Linked DNA regions of Homo sapiens: all the other regions are linked to region 4. Evidence: promoter capture Hi-C in 16 types of primary human blood cells and fetal thymus (Javierre and others, 2016). All regions are on one chromosome and are shown on one strand. The core of a region is centred on a gene start or on the middle of the fragment in contact, and the rest is flanking DNA. Distances in the headings are between cores, read along the strand shown. Region 1 has its middle 32 kb from the start of ITLN2. Region 2 has its middle 21 kb from the start of ITLN1. Region 3 holds the start of LOC101928372 (a long non-coding RNA gene). Region 4 holds the start of NHLH1 (nescient helix-loop-helix 1).

What was found. Contacts are between HindIII fragments. The CHiCAGO score rates a contact against its expected background, and 5 or more counts as called.
Region 1: a fragment that was not itself captured here is called in contact with the fragment with the promoter of NHLH1 in region 4 in 2 of 17 cell types (non-activated CD4 T cells and activated CD4 T cells); the score reaches 6.9 in non-activated CD4 T cells.
Region 2: a contact is called between a fragment that was not itself captured here and the fragment with the promoter of NHLH1 in region 4, in 5 of 17 cell types (non-activated CD4 T cells, naive CD8 T cells, fetal thymus and 2 more). The highest score is 6.7, in non-activated CD4 T cells.
Region 3: a contact is called between a fragment that was not itself captured here and the fragment with the promoter of NHLH1 in region 4, in 2 of 17 cell types (total CD4 T cells and total B cells). The highest score is 5.9, in total CD4 T cells.

The regions. Positions count from the first base shown.
Region 1 is chr1:160,984,780-160,989,815 of GRCh38, forward strand. No RefSeq gene overlaps it. Among named protein-coding and RNA genes, the nearest start is that of ITLN2, 32 kb to the left of the region's middle. RefSeq lists a silencer at 2,620-2,914. The HindIII fragment of the contact is 816 bases long and covers 2,166-2,981 here.
Region 2 is chr1:160,903,841-160,909,294 of GRCh38, forward strand. No RefSeq gene overlaps it. Among named protein-coding and RNA genes, the nearest start is that of ITLN1, 21 kb to the left of the region's middle. The HindIII fragment of the contact is 675 bases long and covers 3,423-4,097 here.
Region 3 is chr1:160,929,640-160,932,491 of GRCh38, forward strand. LOC124904441 (a long non-coding RNA gene) reads right to left here. Exons shown (of 2, transcript XR_007066689.1): 2 at 2,007-2,538. It overlaps LOC101928372 (a long non-coding RNA gene), which reads left to right and starts at 2,826. Exons shown (of 6, transcript NR_110695.1): 1 at 2,826-2,852. The HindIII fragment of the contact is 1,228 bases long and covers 970-2,197 here.
Region 4 is chr1:160,364,876-160,369,764 of GRCh38, forward strand. It overlaps NHLH1 (nescient helix-loop-helix 1), which reads left to right and starts at 2,196. Exons shown (of 2, transcript NM_005598.4): 1 at 2,196-2,462. The HindIII fragment of the contact is 14,453 bases long and covers 1-4,889 here.

The sequences.
Region 1 (5,036 bases), core at 1,324-3,823, 620 kb after region 4:
AATAAATCCTCAATCAAATGAACTTCAGGCCAGCCAAACCTGTCTTCTGCCCTGCTGCTGACTGCTAGCTCTGACAGCTTCCATTAGGTAGTTGAAAGATAATTTAAGGTATATTATTCTCACCACAAAGAAATAATATTTGCTGTGATGTATATGTTAATTAGCTTGATTTGATCATTCCACAATGTATACAAGTATCAACATATCACTTGTACCTCATAAATATATGCAATTAGTATTTGTCAATTAAAAATAAAAGTTGGCTGGCTGCGGTGGCTCACGCCTGTAATCCCAGCACTTTGGGAGGCAGAGGCGGGTAGATCACCTGAGGTCAGGAGTTCAAGACCAGCCTGGCCAACATGGAGAAACCCCATCTCTACTAAAAATACAAAAATTAGCTGGACGTGGTGATGTGCGCCTGTAGTCCCAGCTACTCGGGAGGCTGAGGCAGGAGAATTGCTTGAACCCAGGAGGCAGAGGTTGCAGTGAGCCAAGATCGCACCATTGCACTCCAGCCTAGGCAACAAGAGACTCCATCTCAAACAAATAAAAAAATAAAAAATAAAAGTTTCGGCTGGGCGTGGTGGCTCACACCTGTAATCCAGCACTTTGAGAGGCCAAGGCGGGTGGATCACCTGAGGTCAAGAGTTCGAGACCAGCCTGGCTAACATGGTGAAACCCCGTTTCTACTAAAAATACAAAAAATTAGCCAGGCGTGGTGGTGCACGCTTGTAGTCCCAGGTACTTGGGAGGCTGATGCAGGAGAACTGCTTGAACCCAGGAGGCAGAGGTTGCAGCAAGCCAAGATCACGCCATTGCACTCCAGCTTGGGCAACAAGAGCAAAACTCTGTCTCTTTTTATTATTACTTTTTTAATAATAATAATAATAAAAGTGTTATGCGTGTCCACATAAGAGACCACCTGAACAGGCTTAGTGTGAGCAACATGGCTGTTTATTCACTTGTGTGTGAGTGGGCTGAGTCCGAGAAAGGGGTCAGCAAAAGGTGGTGGGATTATCATTGGTTCTTATAGGTTTGGGATAGGCGGTGTAGTCAGGAGCAATTTTTTACAGGCAGGGGATGGATATTACAAAGTACATTCTCAAGGGTGGGGAGGATGTTACAAAGTACATTCACAAGGGCAGGGAGGGTGTATTGTCACAAGGGCAGGGAGGATGTATTGTCACAAGGGTGGGGAGGAATGTTACAAAGTACATTCACAAGGACAGGAGTATCACAAAGTACATTATCACAAGGGTGGGGGAATGTCACCGTGGCTTGACCATAGTGCAGCCAGCTCAGAGGACCTTACAAAAAGTTTCATACTTGCACGTGTTTTCTTGTGGCAAAAATATAAAACATTTAATTTCTGGGATTCTTTTTTTTTTTTTTTTTTTTTTGAGATGTAATCTCACTCTGTTGCCCAAGCTGGAATGCAATGGCGAGGACTCAGCTCACTGCAAACTCCGCCTCCCAGATTCAAGCAATTCTCCTGCCTCACCCTCCAGAGTAGCTGGGATTACAGGCGCCCACCACCACGCCTGGCTAATTTTTGTATTTTTAGTAGAGACAGGGTTTCACCATATTGGCCAGGCTGGTCTCGAACTCCTGACCTTGTGATTTGCCTGTCTCGGCCTCCCAAAGTGCTGGAATTGCAGGGTGAGCCACCACGCCTGGCTGGGATCATCTTTTTTTCTACAGAGAGAAAATCAATTGTATCTCTACCAGGCAAACAATTTGCATTTGTATTAATATGAACAGGGATCATTTGTATCACTGTCAGGCTTCTACATATTTAACTTTTCTTTCTAGAGTTGCAAAACAGTACAAGACAAGGAAGGATACTGACCTGTAGAGAATCAGAAAACCCCCAGAAGCATCCTGTCCTCTAGTCTAGACAAATCCTAGTAATCCACTGGAAGGATGCCTGTATTTGTCCATTTCAGAAACTGTCACAATTTTTCCTTAACTAACAGCAGGAATTTTGATAGCCAAAAGTCATATTGTTTATTATCACTGTGGGAGCCAAGGCCTTTGGCTCCCTGAAGTTTGCTGAAAATCACTGACGCAAGGCAGATTAATAGGAAAAAAGGCATACAAACTTATTTAATATGTATACATAGAAGCCTTCAGAATGAAGACCCAACCTCCCAGTGAGGTGCAAAAGCTTATACGCCATCATGAGGTTACAGAAAGAATGAGTTTGGATCCTGCGGGAGAAAAGGAATTCTGTTGATGGGCAATAAATGATTACTAAAGAGAATGATTTGATCAGGAAACAAATTAACTTGTAAATAGTTTTCTTTGGAATTTAGATGACCATGAGAAGCAGGCATTAACTCATGAAAAGGTCTGTTCAGGTGTGGTTACATTTTTGGTCTTACAGGAGGAAAAGAAACCTACTGTTCTCCTTGGAGGGTCTGGATCTTAGGCAAATAAAGGAACTTCAGCTTTTTGGGAGAGACCGTGTGGAGCGGGGAAGGTCAGAGAGATCTTCAGGTTGCTTCTTCGGTTCAGTACTATATTTGGGGGTATCGATTTATAAACCCCAACATTACCTAATGTATTGTTCCCGATGAGCCTCCCTCCAATCCCTTTTCCCCTGTATCCCAATGGCCGGAAACTTGTGGAAATTCTTCCCAAGGCCTCTAAAAGCAGCACTTGCTTTTGCCTGGTTGCTAATGCAAGTTGTGAATTGCGCACGTGAATCACTATCACTGTCCATCCACCACTCTCTTGCTCTAAGGCATTGAAACGGCACTGCAGAGAGACGCCAGGTAACAAAGACTCTCCTTAACCAAGCTCTAGCATGGCTTCTAGCAACTTAAGGCCTTGTCCCTAGGAGGACCTCAGCCCCCCGCTTAAAATGCCTGCCTGAAAAAGCTCATCGCTGTCAGAAAAATTTACTGTGCATCCCAGCCCAAACCTAGCAATAGACACAGGCCCCTGAACTTCATCTTAGTGCAATTACTTAGAAAGAAAGCTTGCAATTAAAACATCTTTCTCTGCCTCTTTGAGATGTAAATCTTCTACCCAGAGCTATTTTCACTGGGACCTGAGAGTTTCTTTGAAATGCAAACATTTGAGGAAATAAATCTTGCTCCAGCTCCCAACCAGGTGGGTGCCTTGCTCTAACTTGCACTACTAGCTCCTGTCGTAAAAATAGGTGCTTATTTCTCTTCTGGACAAGAGCCAATTCACAAATCCAGATTGTCTAGTCACATGGAGCAATTCTCCTTAATATCTTCATGCCTATCCCTTAGCACATCCCAGCCTTCAAAAGGCCTCCTGCATTTTTTTTTTTTTTAAGGAAGTTAAGTTCAGTTCACCTTGGGCCCTCTTCCCTACTGCAATAGTTACTACTTAAAAAAACCTATCCTAGGCCGGGTGCAGTGGCTCACGCCTGTAATCCCAACACTTTGGGAGGCCGAGGTGGGCAGATCACCTGGGGTCAAAAGTTCAAAACCAGCCTGACCAACATGGAGAAACGCTGTCTCCACTAAAAATACAAAAAAATTAGCCGGGCGTGGTGGTGCATGCCTGTAATCCCAGCTATTCAGGAGGCTGAGGCAGGAGAATCGCTTGAACCCCGGACACGGAGGTTGCGGTGAGCCAAGATCGCGCCATTACCCTCCAGCCTGGGCGACAAGAGTGAAACTCCATCTCAAATAAATAAATAAATACCTATCCTTACTTCTTGTCTAAACTATTGTCTGGCTTTGTTTAGCTTTGACACAGGCTTTATAAGCCCACAAGTAACTTTAAGGCAAAGCCTTATAAATTCATCCAAGGCACTGACATTGAAGAATGTCTAACATTTCTGTGATATGCTTCAATCTCACTTCCAGCCTGTTCCAAACCTTCTTTTTAGTTTTCTACTTCCAGAGACTTTTTCCTTTGGTTAATCACCTTGTAATTCTTAGGTCTGATTCTCGAGCTAGCACATTTCAGCCCCTACAAATAAATGCCTTCTCCCAAAATGTGCAGCTCTTTTGCCATGCTACATTCTATTTGTCTTTCTAGTACTATTTTAATAAGTATCATAGCTCAAGCATGATCAACCCTCAGCTTCTTTATATGGTTATAGGAGTCTCTGACAAGCCTGAGGACAAGCATGTTCTGCATATTTTTTCTTGTCAACTTTTTTTAATGTGCAAAACATTAACATGGATCCAGAAGTCAAAACTAGACAAAATGGTAAATAAACTCAGAGAAGTAATACTCCATCATGTATCTATTTTTATTTTTATTTTTTTGAGACAGAGTCTCGCTCTGTCGCCCAGGCTAGAGTGCAGTGGCGCGATCTGGGCTCACTGCAAGCTCCGCCTCTGGGGTTCACACCATTCTCCTGCCTCAGCCTCCCAAGTCGCTGGGACTACAGGTGCCCACCACCACGCCCGGCCAATTTTTTGTATTTTCAGTAGAGACTGGGTTTCACCGTGTTAGCCAGGATGGTCTCGATCTCCTGACCTCGTGATCCGCCCGCCTCAGTCTCCCAAAGTCCTGGGATTACAGGTGTGAGCCACCGCGCCCGGCCGATCATGTATCTATTTCATCTAGACCTTATCTACCTCTTGAAATAACCAATTTAGTTTATTTTCCTTCCTGTGTTTGTTTCTGCAAAAATAAGCAAATATAGTATGCTTTCTTATTTCCCCTCCTTTCGTATCAAAAAGGTGGCCTTTTTTTTTTTAATTTTCTCATAGAGACAGGGTCTCACTTTGTTGCCCAGGCTAGTCTCAAACTCTTGGCCCCAAGCAATCCTTCCACCTCAGCCTTCCAAAGTGCTTGGATTATAGGTGTGAGCCACCATGCCCAGCCATTTGTCTTTTATTTTCCTTTTTTTTTTTTTTTTTTTTTTTGAGACGGAGACTTGCTCTGTTGCCCAGGCTGGAGTGCAGTGGCGTGATCTCGGCTCACTGAAACCTCCGCCTCCTGGGTTCACGCGATTGTCCTGCCTCAGCCTCCTCAGTAGCTGGGATTACAGGCGCGTGCCACCACGCCCAGCTAATTTTTGTATTTTTGGTAGAAACGGG
Region 2 (5,454 bases), core at 2,510-5,009, 540 kb after region 4:
AAGAATTTGAAACTTCAGTTACTGCCCCAAGACTTCTCTGTATAATGCACACGCCTTCTCTCCTTAACCAGGCAGCCCTTCTTCTTCTAGTATAGAGCATGTGCTAGGTAAGGTCCTACCATACCAGGGTTGGGACAAGCCGACATTGTCTATCCCCTAGATGCTCTGAGAAGAACATAACAGCAACAACATATATTCCTGCCAGAGATGTTTAGCCTGGAACCAATAACCTGAAGGAAGCAGCCAGACAAACCCAAGTTGAGGAACATTCTGCAAAATAGTTGACCCCCTAGACTCTTCAAAAATGATAATATCATTAAAGACCAAAAATAATCTCAGTTACTAGTCTAGATTAAAGGAACCTAGGTACACACGACAAATAAATGCAGTGCATAATCCCTGGTTGGATTCTGGATCAAACAAAAAGCTATAAAGAACATTATTGGAATAATTAGTGAAATTTAATATAAGCTACTCTTAAGTACTAGTATTTTATTAATGTAAAATTTCTTGAATTATATTTGTATTATGTAGGAGATTAATGTTGAAATAATTAAAGGTAAAGTGTCACAGGCTGGGCAAAGTGGCTCACGCCTGTAATCCCAACAGTTTGGGAAGCCAAGGTGGGCAGATCACCTGAGGTCGGGAGTTCAGGATCAGCCTGGCCAATATGGTGAAACCCTCTCTCCACTAAAAATACAAAAAAATTAGTCAGGCATGGTGGTAGGCTCCTGTAATCCCAGCTATTTGGGAGACTGAGGCAGAAGACTTGCTTGAACCCAGGAGGCAGAAGTTGCAGTGAGCCAAGACGGTACCAATGCACTCCAGCCTGGGTGACAGAGGGAGACTCTGTCTAAAAAAAAAAAAAAAAAGTGTTACACTTGCAACTCTTTTCTAAGTTCTTCAACAAACCATAGTGAGAGAGAGAGAGAAAACAAATGTAGCAAAATGTCTAGATGAAGGAGTTCATTGCCAATCTTTTGCACCTTGTAGGGGATACATGGCAACATATTCAAGCTTCTATACAAGGCATTTGAGGTCGAGGTATGGCAAAATACTGAAGCACTGTGTGCATGTTTTTTGGGCATGAGACTGAAATTCCTTGACCCTGAAAACAGAGCAAGGAACAGAATGTGTGATAAGGAGCTGTGTGATAAGGAGTTGTGTGATAAGGAGCGCTGAAAACAGCCTCCTGAGAATGTGGTCTGAGTGATTTTAGATGTAATAAACAAGGCCGTATGTGCCTCATGACCCAACTGCAAATTGTTACCTAGTGGATGTCTCTTGGTTGTCTAAATTGTAATTCTTGTACAATTACAATTTAGATTACAATTACAATTACAATTAGAACTACAATTTAGAGAGGGCTTGTTGCCCTCTTAATAAATACTTGGCAGACAGATCTTAGAGTGGCACTCTCTCAGAAGAGCTACTCCCTGCCCTGCTCAGCTGGAATTCTCTGAGTACTTCATTCTTGGCGTTCGCTGTAGCTACAAGCTGCAAGTGGTGACCCTGACATAACTGCGTTGAAATTACACGTGGAGTATGAAAACTCATCAAACTTCAGGGAATACCAGTAAGGGACAGTCCCAACCCATTTCAGGAAGATGGGACCAACGCATATAATACCAGGGATTGGGCTATCATGGGTCAGGAATTGACCAAAGAGCAGAAAGTATTTTTTAAAATGGTGCAACAATTACTTAAGGCTATCCACTGCACCTTAGAGTCTGAAGATTTGCATCAGCTTATGCTTTTTATTCAGCAGGAATGCTCTTGGTTCCCTGATCAAGGAACATTAGACTTAGAGTTATGGGAGGAGGTGGATCACTGCCTGAAAACAGGATTTAGGCAGGGCCATTTTACTAAGGTTATCATTTTGACCACCTGGGCCCTGGTACGCTCTGCATTGTACCCTCTTTATATGCCAGATTGCGGTGAGTCAGACTGCCCATTAGCTCCACCTGAAGGGAATTCAGGAGATTTAAAGAAAAACAGGAACCAGAACAACAGGGAGGGGCTCCTCTCCCTACTTCATTCCCTTCCGTAGGGCATAAGGAGGACACTTTCTAGTGATGATGAGGACAGACCGGAGCTTTTTCCTCCCCCAATAGAAAAGCCATTGCCCTCCTTTCCTCCACCCCTAAAAAAATCCACATCTATTGGCCCTGTTCAGGCTACAGTGCCTCCCATCCCCCTGGAGGAGATTGGAGGCCACCCAAGGGATGGACGGTTCTTGGATAAGACCCCCTGTCAGTGAACATCTATATTGTCACGCACGTCCGTGTGAAGAGACCACCAAACAGGCTTATGTGAGCAATAAAGCTTTTTAATCACCTGGGTGCAGGCGGGCTGAGTCTGAAAAGAGAGTCAGCAAAAGGTGGTGGGATTATCATTAGTTCTTATAGGTTTGGGATAGGCATACAAAGTACATTCCCAAGGGCGGGGAGAATATTACAAAGTACCTTCCTAAGGGCAGGGGAGAATATATCATATCAGTTAGGGTGGGGCAGGAACAAATCACAATGGTGGAATGCCATCAGTTTAGCCTATTTTCACTTCTTTTGTGGATCTTCAGTTGCTTCAGGCCATCTGGATGTATACGTGCAGGTCACAGGGGATATGTTGGCTTAGCTTGGGCTCAGAGGCCTGACATATATGATCAGGTGAACGCGTTCTCAGTGACGACTCCTCATCAAACTTCCCTAGTAGAGGGGTGCCTCCAGGAGGGACTTAAAAAGGGAGACTCTTAGGCACTTTTTGGCGCATTCCCTGTCATTGTTCAAAATGATAGGAGACGGCATGAGAGTTTGCCTTTTACTGTTTTTAAAGAGATAAAGAAAAGTATCTGTGAAAATGGTGTACATTCACCCTTTACCCAGGGGATGATTGAGGCTCTGGGAAATGGCTATAAGATGACTCCGCATGATTGGAAAACTTTAGTAAAAGTTTTGGTTTCAGCTGCAGAATATACTGTGCGGTGGAGTGAGTACAGTGATCTATCCATGCAGCAGCCCTTGCAAAATTTGGATAATAATATCCCAACACAGCTTGATATGCTATTGGGACCAGGTCCTTTTGCTTGAGCTCAGGCTCAAGCTCAAATAAACAGCCATCTATTTCCACAATGCTTGCAGCTAGCAATACAGGCATAGAAGAGGATACCCACGGGACAATCCCAGGGTTCCTTTATAACAGTTAAACAGAGTGCCACAGAAACATTCCTTTATAACAGTTAAACAGAGTGCCACAGAAACATACGTTGAATTTATCAACTGATTGCAAGCTGCACGTAGTGACCAACATCACATCAGCAGAGCTATAAAAAAACTCTGCTATTCAAATCCACTGCACACGGAATAAATCAGAAGATAAAATAAAAGTCTGTCAAAATTCATACAACTTGTGAGTGAGTTCTAAAAAGCTTAGTTTAGAAGGGCTAGAGAAAGAAAAACTTCAATGGGGCCCAAATCAGAATGCTTGTAATGAAACCCAGTCTCCAGGAAAACAACACTCACATGTGTTCAATCATATAAAATGATTTGTAACATCTCTAATTAGGTGAATCAACTAGAAACAAACTCACTAGTCAAAATAAATTTTTAAAGTATCTTGTAACCTATATTTTACTTTTCTGAGTATATTAAGGGGCTGCCAGCCCAGAGATATACTTAAGATATAGGCAAAAAATCCCCAGGCCTTTACACAAAAGATTTCCACTTTCAAACCAATGTCAGTGGACATTGATAAAAGTATAGCAGCATCCTCTACTAAGGTGATTTCATTTATTCCCTGCAACCCACTAATAAATATCCCACTTCTCCCAAACAGTATTTAAGCTCCTAGCTAAGCAAAAAACTATTGTCTATTAGCATTCAACTGAAGAAAAGAAAGATAAAATATTGTCTTGTTTCCATCACTGTATTACTTGGGCAACATAATTACATAATTCTTACCCTAAGAGAAAGCCTTCATATTTTTTTAAAAGTCTTTTCAAATAAAATCTTCTTATGTTTTAAACAATATAAAATACAAACTTTCACTTTATTTATTGTAAATTATAAAGAGATCATTGTCTTAATATATTGTTAGCTTCAAGCTTCCTAAAATATAAAAACATTGTTGTCTAAAGTCACATATTAACACTAAGCTCCGTGGTTTACAGAATCTCCTACATTTTTGCAAGCTCAAGCTGATCATTCCTTTTTTTATCAGAACAACCACAGTCTTAAACAACAGTTTTATTTGGCGCTCACTCAAGCTCGCATGATTATTAAAACCTGTCCTGACTGCCAATGGCATTCGCTCTCCCCTTTTTCGTTAGGACTTGGTGCCAACCCACGAGGTCTGGTGCCTAATGCTATCTGGCAAACTGATATTACTCAGCATCCACCCTTTAGATGCTTCAAATTTCTCCACGTTACTGTAGACACTTATACAGGCCTGAAATATGCTACTCCTCAGACTACAGAAAAAACTAAAGATGCAATTGCTCATCTTTTTAAATCTATTATGACTTTAGGCCTTCCACAAATTACAAAAACTGATAATAGACATTGCTGTCTTAGTGCTCGATTTACATATGCATTTACAACTGTGGCACATACAACACAAGACTGGCATTCCTTATAACTCAACCAGTCAGGCCAATGTTGAGCGAGCTCATCAAACTCTTAAAGTATATCTTAACAAACAAAAAAGGGGGAATATTGGGCTTTCTCCTCGAGAACAGGTAGGAGACAACTGAACCCCTCCTGATGATGAAAGACCTGTCGTTGGAGAATCGACCAGCAATGATAGCGATGACTCGGAAGGCATCTGACATTACCTGAGGGCAGCTAAAGAAATTGGATCAACAGGCAACTATCCAGCTTGTTGCCATGGGAGCCCCTGCAATTGCAGAGAATTGGTTTCTTATGTATCTGGCAGTAATTGGGGGAGCTTTTGAGAAAGTAAGACAGACATGGATGCTGGGGTGGCTGGTGATTCTCATCCTTTGCCAAGTGGGATCAGCTCAAGAACATGTTTACTGGAATCATATTCTGAATCCCACTGTTGGAAATGTTATTATGTGGTGGGATGCTGACCCGCCTTTGTCATCTAATGATACTTCTTGGATGGGAGGTCGATGGATGCCCCTGTCTTACCCCTTAACTGAAAATTTGGGATGGATTAAACTCAATGACTCCTTGACTTTATTGTCTAGCAACCCCCTTCTTTGTTTTTCTACAATAGCCCATGATAAGCACATTACTCTTATTCCTCTGGAGTATCTTTACTGTCACCTCAAAAGGGATGCCAAGCCCGCAAACTTGACCTTTATTTCTGCTGTTACCATTAATCTCACTAAGGTCTCTAATGAAGCTACACAAGTGCCTAGTCTTCTTATATGCTGTCTGAGAAGGGACTGGCAATGTAAGTTTGAGGCTGTCCAGTGTGAACCCCATGCAGACA
Region 3 (2,852 bases), core at 334-2,833, 560 kb after region 4:
GAGTAAGTCAGCCTCACCTTCAAAATAGTCTAACCTGACCACCATTCACAATCCTACTGCTTTCATCCTCTTCTAAGCCACTAGCATCCCCTGGCTGGCTGCAAGTCTCCTCATTGGTCTCTCTGCTTCTGCTCTTGGCAGTCTTCAGTATATCCTCAACACAGCCAAAGTCATCCTGTTAAATCAGGCTACCCTCCTACTCAGACCTCTCTGAAGGCTTCTAGTCTTGCCCAGAAGGCCCACAATATCCTACACAATCTGCTCCCATCTTACCTTTGTGCTGTCATGACCTGCTGCTTTCCTCCATACTTATGCAGCTTCTGCTAGCCAAATCTCCCTGCAGCTCCCTGAACGCAGTGAAGATACTCCCATCTCAATACCTTGGCAGTTGCTATTCCCTCTGCCTGGTACTTTATGGCTCAATCCCTCACCTTCTTCAGATCCTTCCTCAATGTCACCTTCTCACTGAAGTCTTCTTTAAAGATCTATTAAAGTTGTAAACCACCACCACCCCCAATATATCTATGTCGCTACTCAACTTTCTTTTTCTCCATAGCACTTTTCAAACTTAACATTCTAGTCTGGGTGTGGTGGCTCATGCCTGTAATCCCAGCACTTTGGGAGGCTGAAGCGGGGGGATCATTTGAGCCCAGGAGTTCAAGAACAGCTGGGCAACATAAGGAGACCTGGTTTAAAAAAATAAAAATAAATAAATAAATAAAAACTTGACATTCTATTATTTATTTTTATAGCATATTGTATATTTCCTGGTACTAGGGTACAATCTCCAGAAAGGCAGAAATGTGTACCTGACTTGTTGCTATATCCCCAGCATCTAGAATATGTTCTGGCACATAATAGGCTCGCAATTAATGCTTTTAAAAGAAATAAACACACAAATTTGTGATTAGAAAACATTCATGAAGCCTGCTGTTAGTTCTAGAGCAGCCACTAAAAGGATAGAAAAAAAGCTTACAATTTTAAAACTAGTAGAGAGAAAAAAACAATGACACAATTGTGTCAGTTTCCTAGGGTTGCCATAACAAATTGTCACAACCTAGGTGGCTTTTTAAGAAATTACTCTATTTCAGAGGTGAGAAGTCCAAAATTAAGGCATCAGCAGGACTGTGCTCTGTCCAAAGACTCTGCAGGAGGATCTTCTCTTGCCTCATCCAGCTTCAGGTAGAAAGCAATCCTTGGGTTTTTTGTTTGTTTGCTTTTGGTTTTGATAGAAATGGAGTTTCACTGTATTTTTTGCCCAGGCTGGTCTCAAACTCCTGGGCTCAAGCAATCATCCCACCTCAGCCTCCCAAAGTACTGGGATTACAGGTATGAGGCACCATGCCTGGCCAATCCTTGGTATTTATTGATTTGTGGCCACATAACTCCCTTCTCTGCCTCCGTCTTCATACAGCTGCCTTCCATCTGTGTGTGTTTCTGCATCTGTGTCTCTTCTCTTCTTATAAGGATATTAGTTATATTGGAATTAGGGCCCACCCTAATCCACTATAACTGCATTTTAAATAGTTGCATCTGCAAAAATCTCATTTCCAAATAAGGTCACATTCACAGGTACCTTGGATTAGGACTTTAACATACCACTTTAGGGAACACAGTTCAACTCACAATAGCAATCATCAGTCTTGGTCTTGAATTATGTCTATATTCATACAGAATGCTCAGCAATGCTATGATCTGAACATTTATGTCCTCTCAAATTCATATGTAGGTTTGTTAATATCCTGTTTAGAATTGTTGCATATACAGTCATGAGGGTGGTTGGCTTATAATTATCTTTTCTTGTGATACTCTTGTGAGATTTTCATATCAAGGTTATGCTGGATACATTGTTAGAGGAGCAGCCCACAAGACCACCCTCACTTCTGACACCGATTGCAAGGTTGGGGTCCCCCAATATCCTCCTCCTCTCTGACATTAATTGTCAGCTTGGGGGGACCCCAAGACCACCCGTGAGTTTAATAATTCACAAGACAAACTCACAGTGCTCATGGAAAGTTACGGTTTATTGCAGCTAAGAATACAGGTTAAAATCAGCCAAGGGAAGGGGTACATAGGGCAGAGTTCAGGAAAGCTCTAAACACAGAACTCCCAGTTGTCCTTTCCATGAGTTGTGGACAGTGTTAATTTCCTGACATCCAGTGTGTGATAATACTCGCAGAATATTGTCAACCAGGGAAGCTTACTCAGGCCAGTTTATTAGGCTCAATCACATAAATCTGGTCAGCTGCCCTCAGTCTCCTAGCCCTTGCAAAGTTTGAGCTGATACCACTGTTCTGGTGTGGGGTTTTCATGAGGTTGCAGTCACATGGTGGCTGGGGTTGGGATAATCTTTAAGACTCTTTCTCTAACATGTCCGATCCCTGGGTGGGCAGACTGAAACAGCTACAGAAAGAAGCATATATGGCTTCTTGGGCATCTTTCTACTTCTATATGATCTTTTCACATGGTCTCTCCAGCATAGCAGCTTCAGGATAGTGGACTTCTCACTTAATAAATCAGGATCCGAAGGCACAAGTCCTAAGAAAGAGAAAGCCAGGAAGAAGCTGTATCATTTTTTAGGATGCAGTCTCAGAGGTCACACTTCTGCCATATTCTTTTCATGAAAACTTAGTCACTAAGCCCGCCCAAATTTGGTGGGGTGGGGGGAATTACCAAAGAATTGGCAGGCTATATGCAGAATATGCCATATCAGTGAATTTTCTATGTCAGAATGATCTTTCCAAGGTGAAAAACAATACTGGGTCAGGGTTGGTCTCTGGATTTTGAAAGCAACACATATAACATGTGAGCCTGCTGCTTTCATCTAGGCCAATTTTAAGTGGGGCACAAAG
Region 4 (4,889 bases), core at 946-3,445:
CCGCCTCGGCCTCCCAAAGTGCTGAGATTACAGGCGTGAGCCACCGTGCCCGGCCACAGCATCCTCTTTTAAAGCCTCTCCCCAAGTCTCTATCTCTCCCATAGCTTGGGTCTCCAAGTCTTCCACAAAGCCTTGGCAACCTGGCAATTCTGTTTCCATTCTTTTTTTTTTTTTTTTTTTTAAATCTTTTTACCTCCTTTGTGTCTCAATCTCCCCATGAGACTGTGTCTTCCCATTTCCCTATGTCTTTCCCATGTCTGTTACCCAATGACTCTGGTTTCTCATTTTTTTCTCTCCCTGAGTCTCGGTATCTTCCCGTGTCTTTCTCGTCGTTTCCCTCCGCTTCCCCTGTCTCTGTTCATCTCCCCTTCTTTCTGTATCTCTCATCTCCCCCATGGCACTCTCTCCTGAGTCTCTTGGTCTCCCAATTTCTTGGATGGGGTGGAGGGCAGGAGAGTGGAGGAGGTAGAATTGTTGTTGCTGGGGGCTCATTAGGTGGAGATTGGTTTTTAATCAGCACCATGGCAATGATGATGCAAGAACTGAGATGCCACCTGATCCCCTGCCCCCCAGCCCCCCTCCTCAAGCCTCCTTTCCCCTCCAGCTCAGCCCATCTGCTGGCGCCTGGGCACCTGTCTGGGCCTGCCCAGGTGGGAGTTGGCACCTCCCAGACTCAGGGATGGGGGCAGGTGGGGGAGCTTGGGGAGGAATTATGGGACCCCCTTAGGGAATGCTTCACCCTGGAGAAAGCCCAGAAAAGGTTGACCAGCAACAGGGAAATGGCAAGTCCCTCCAGCCTGAAGGTGGGATGTGCTCCTACTAAGCTCTAGGCCCACTACACATATTATCTCCCTTAATTTCCATGGCAACCTAAGAAGCAGCTATAATCAACCCCATTTTACAGGAAAAGAGGTCCAGGCTCAAAAGGTTGTTATTTGTCCAAGGTCACACAGCTGACAGAGCCTTTTTCACTGTACCACACTACCTCTGGAGTCCTCTCCAGTCATGGTTCTTTTGAATACTCTCAAAGGTTCAGAGAAGACATCCAACAGCTGAGTGGGGAGAGAACTTCAGACACTGAAACCCTCTATGCACTGTCTCTCTATGCACTCTGGTCCCTGTGCTGCCCCTCCTCAATCCTGCCACTCGGCAACACACACATACACACACACACTCACACTTACATTCACATTCACACACACTTGCATATACATGCTGGAGGCTGCTGAGCTATTGATGGGAGCTTAATCAGTGCCCATTTGCATATAATTTTGTGTCTGGTTTTCTTATTGCTGATTTGATGCCCTCAAAACACACTCAGAGCCTGCCTAGGCTGCCCTGCCCTCCTCTCCCAGTGTCCTTCCAATCCTGGTTCTTCCTGTCTTGGCACTCCTCCACTCCTCTCCTTTTAGCCCTTACCTCTTTCTTCCTAAGAGCCCTCTAATTCCCAGTGGGTCAGGTTGGGCTGGCCAGCCTAGAAAAACTCCTTGTGGGGTCTGTGTCCCAAATTTGATCCTGCTCCTCCCCTTGGTGATGGGTTAGGTAGGAAGATAGCGGGTGGGGTAAGAGGGTATGGGGGTGATTGAGTCCCAGGGTGATGAGGGTAGGGGCCTGAACAGTTGCTACAGGCAGGCTGGCAAGCAGTGGGTACCAGCTTTATGAAGGATAAGAGCTTGAGGGCCAGGACCCTAGGGTCCTCTTCTGCATTTTAGTGCTACCCACTTGCTCTTTTCTCGGTTTCCCTGTTAGTACCTTGAAGAGTCTCCCTCTCAGGAAAAAAGAGACACCAGGAAGGGGCTGTCCAAGTCACGCTGGGACTCCGAATGGGGCCATGGCACTTAACCATAGCTTGCTGGGAGCCTCTGCCCTGCTGCCTCTGGTGTGGGAGACTGAGGGGGTTCATCTGTGGTCCTGCCCTGGCTCTCGCCCCAGCCCCACCCCTTCCCCAGCTCTCCATTTCTTGCTTATGAAATATGCATGGAGAACAGATGTCCCTGCTCCCCCGCTCCCCGCCCCCACCCAGGGCCAGCCCCCGCCCCCAGCTCCCGAGGGGTTCCCAGATCCCTCTGCCAATGGCTGCCTGGCCTGGCTGTTTAATATTGATGAGGGGGGGGTGGGCCTGGGCCAGCCAATGGAGAGCTGGGGGTGTGTGTGTGTATCTCCATATATATACATAGGGCTGGGCCAGCTCAGGTGTGTGTGTCTGAGGGTGTGTGTGTGAGTGTGGCTGGCCCCAGTACCTGGCCAAGCCCACCACTTCCACCTGGGCCCTACACCCCCACAATGTGTACCCCTCTTATCTGCCCTGGAGCCTGTACAGCCATGCCACGCTACCCCTGAGAGTCTAGAAAGCTGGTCACTAACTTTGCAGACGGATGAGCCTTGAGCACCCAGAGGAGACTGGGGCTGTCAACGCTGCCCCTTGTCCTGCCGGCTTGGATCCCCTGACAGGGTCCTTCTAGGTAAAGGGGAAACCATGGGCGGGGAGGGATGGGCGTGTCCCTCCCATTCTCTGGCTCAAGCCCCTTCCTAGAGCCTCCCTCTAGTTCTCTCCCTTGTGCGCTGTGTCTCTCCCTGTCTCCGCGTGTCCCTCTTCTCCACTCCTCCCCTTCGACTCTTTGTGCCTATCTATCCTCAGTTGGGTTAGGGCTGGCAGAAGTGGGGTGGGAAGTCCTGTCCTGCAGGCTTGGAATTGCTGCTCCCCTGATCCTTGGACCCTGGAACTTTGAGACCAGAAGTGGATTTGGGGGTGAGGACTTGATGGGTAAATAGAAGCTGCTGCCGGGACTGGAACTGGGGAGGACAATGGGGCCAGGTGGAGATGAGACTGGGGCCAGATGGGGAGCACGGAGAGGGGAAGGAAGGGCATGGCAAAGTGATGAGGGATGAAGGAACATAGGGACCGGGCAGAGAGAATTAGCCTGTGATAGATGTGATAAATGTGTTGGGAACTCCGCAGCTGAACTCCTGCTCCCAGCCCCAGCATGGGGGGTGGGGAGTTGGGGGCACTAAACATGTACTGGGAGGTGCTGACTTTGGGGCCTCCCACACTATTGCCATCCCCCCATAGTTCATTTGAACCCCAGAATATGGAATGTGTTCTCAATTTCAGCACTAACCACCTTCTGTTTCCTGTTAAGATTGTGTGTGTACTTGTCATCAGATGTGGATGACTTTGCATCCCTCCAGAGCTTCATAGCTGTTTGTTGGCTTGACTTGAACCTATCTTCTGTGTGGTGGGGTGGGGCAAGGCTTGGGAGGATCCTAACCCCTTTGAGAGTATCTATCAGACAGGAAAGCCAGGGCTGGGGAGGAAGGGGAGATAGTGATGGTGCAGGCACCTTGGTGCTTCTGTTTCTAATCATTCTTAGTTGAGCTGATGGTGAGTGGCCCACTGTTCCCCTTTAACACTGCACACAAGCAAAGCCCTTTCCCCAGCTTTTCCCAGGCCATGTTTGTGCTGCCTTGCCCTGATCTCCTCTGGTCCTAGGACAAGCAAACCTTAGCTGAGTCCCATAAGGGTAGCTCCAAAAATCTGTCTGTGTCCTCTGCAGGCCGTGTCTGAACCTTCCTTGGGCTATGGGAGAGTATGGGGGTAGAAGGTTGATTATGTTCCCTTTCCCCAATCTTCCTTGCCCAGCCTCCAAAAGGGCCAGGGAATGGCAAGGGCTGAAAATTTCGAAGACAGAGGTGGAGGAAGAGGCTGGTTGTGCACAGTGGGGTGGTGGTGAGAAGAGATATCTTCCCCTGGTTTTAGTGGACAGGATCTCATATCTACAATGGTTCTGCTGGGAAGGTTTGGGGAACTGGGAGGGGAGCTGTGCAGAGCTGGGGCAGCTGCGCAGAGCTCCATATGTCCTAGTCTATTCTACAATGGGCAATCTGTGTGTTTATCCGCTCCTCCACCTCAGGCAGCAAGGGTGGAGAGGGGCCCTGAGAGGGAGGGGACCACAGGGCCAAGGCTTGTATTCTCCCCTCACAACTGGGAAGCATCTAGAGTCATAGCTAACTTCTCTTGGGGCTGTGGCTGCAGTCTTGCTCAGATTTTTTCCTCCTTTTATTTATTCATTTAGATAAAAAACAGCATACAATTTATAATCTTAACCATTTTTAAGTGTACAATTCAGTAGTGTTCAGTATATTCACATTGTTGTGAAACAGATCTCTAGCAATTTTTCATCCTGCAAATGTATAATTCTATACCCACTAAACAACAACTCCCCTTTACCCCCTCCCTCCAGCCCCTGGCAACGGCCATTCTACTTTCTGTTTCTATGAATTAGACTACTTTAAATACCTCATATAAGTGGAGCTATACAGTATTTGTGTTGTTACTGGTTTATTTCACTTATCATCATATCCTCAAGGTTCATTCATGCTGTAGCATGTGACAGAACTTCCTTTTTAGGGCTGAATAATATTCCACTGTATGTATATAATACATTTTGTTTATCTGTTGTCTATTGATGGACATTTGGGTTGCTTCTACCTCTTGGCTATTGTGAATAGTGCTGCTATGAACATGAGTGTGCAAATATCTCTTTGACACCCTACTTTATTTGTATATATACCCAGAGGTAGGATTCCTGGAGCATATGGTAGTTCTATTTTTTATTTTTTGAGGAACATTTATACTGTTTTCCATAGTGGTTGCATCATTTTGCAATCCCAACAAGGCATAAGGGTTCCAATTTCTCCACATCCTTGCCAAGACTTATTTTTTGTTTGTTTGGTTTTTGTTTTTATAGTAGCCATCCTAATGGGTATGAAGTGATATTTCATAGTGGGTTTGATTTGCATTTTAATGATTAGTGATGTTGAACATTTTTTCATATGCTTGTTGGCCATTTGTATAAAATCTTTGGAGAAATGTGTATTCTAGTCCTTTA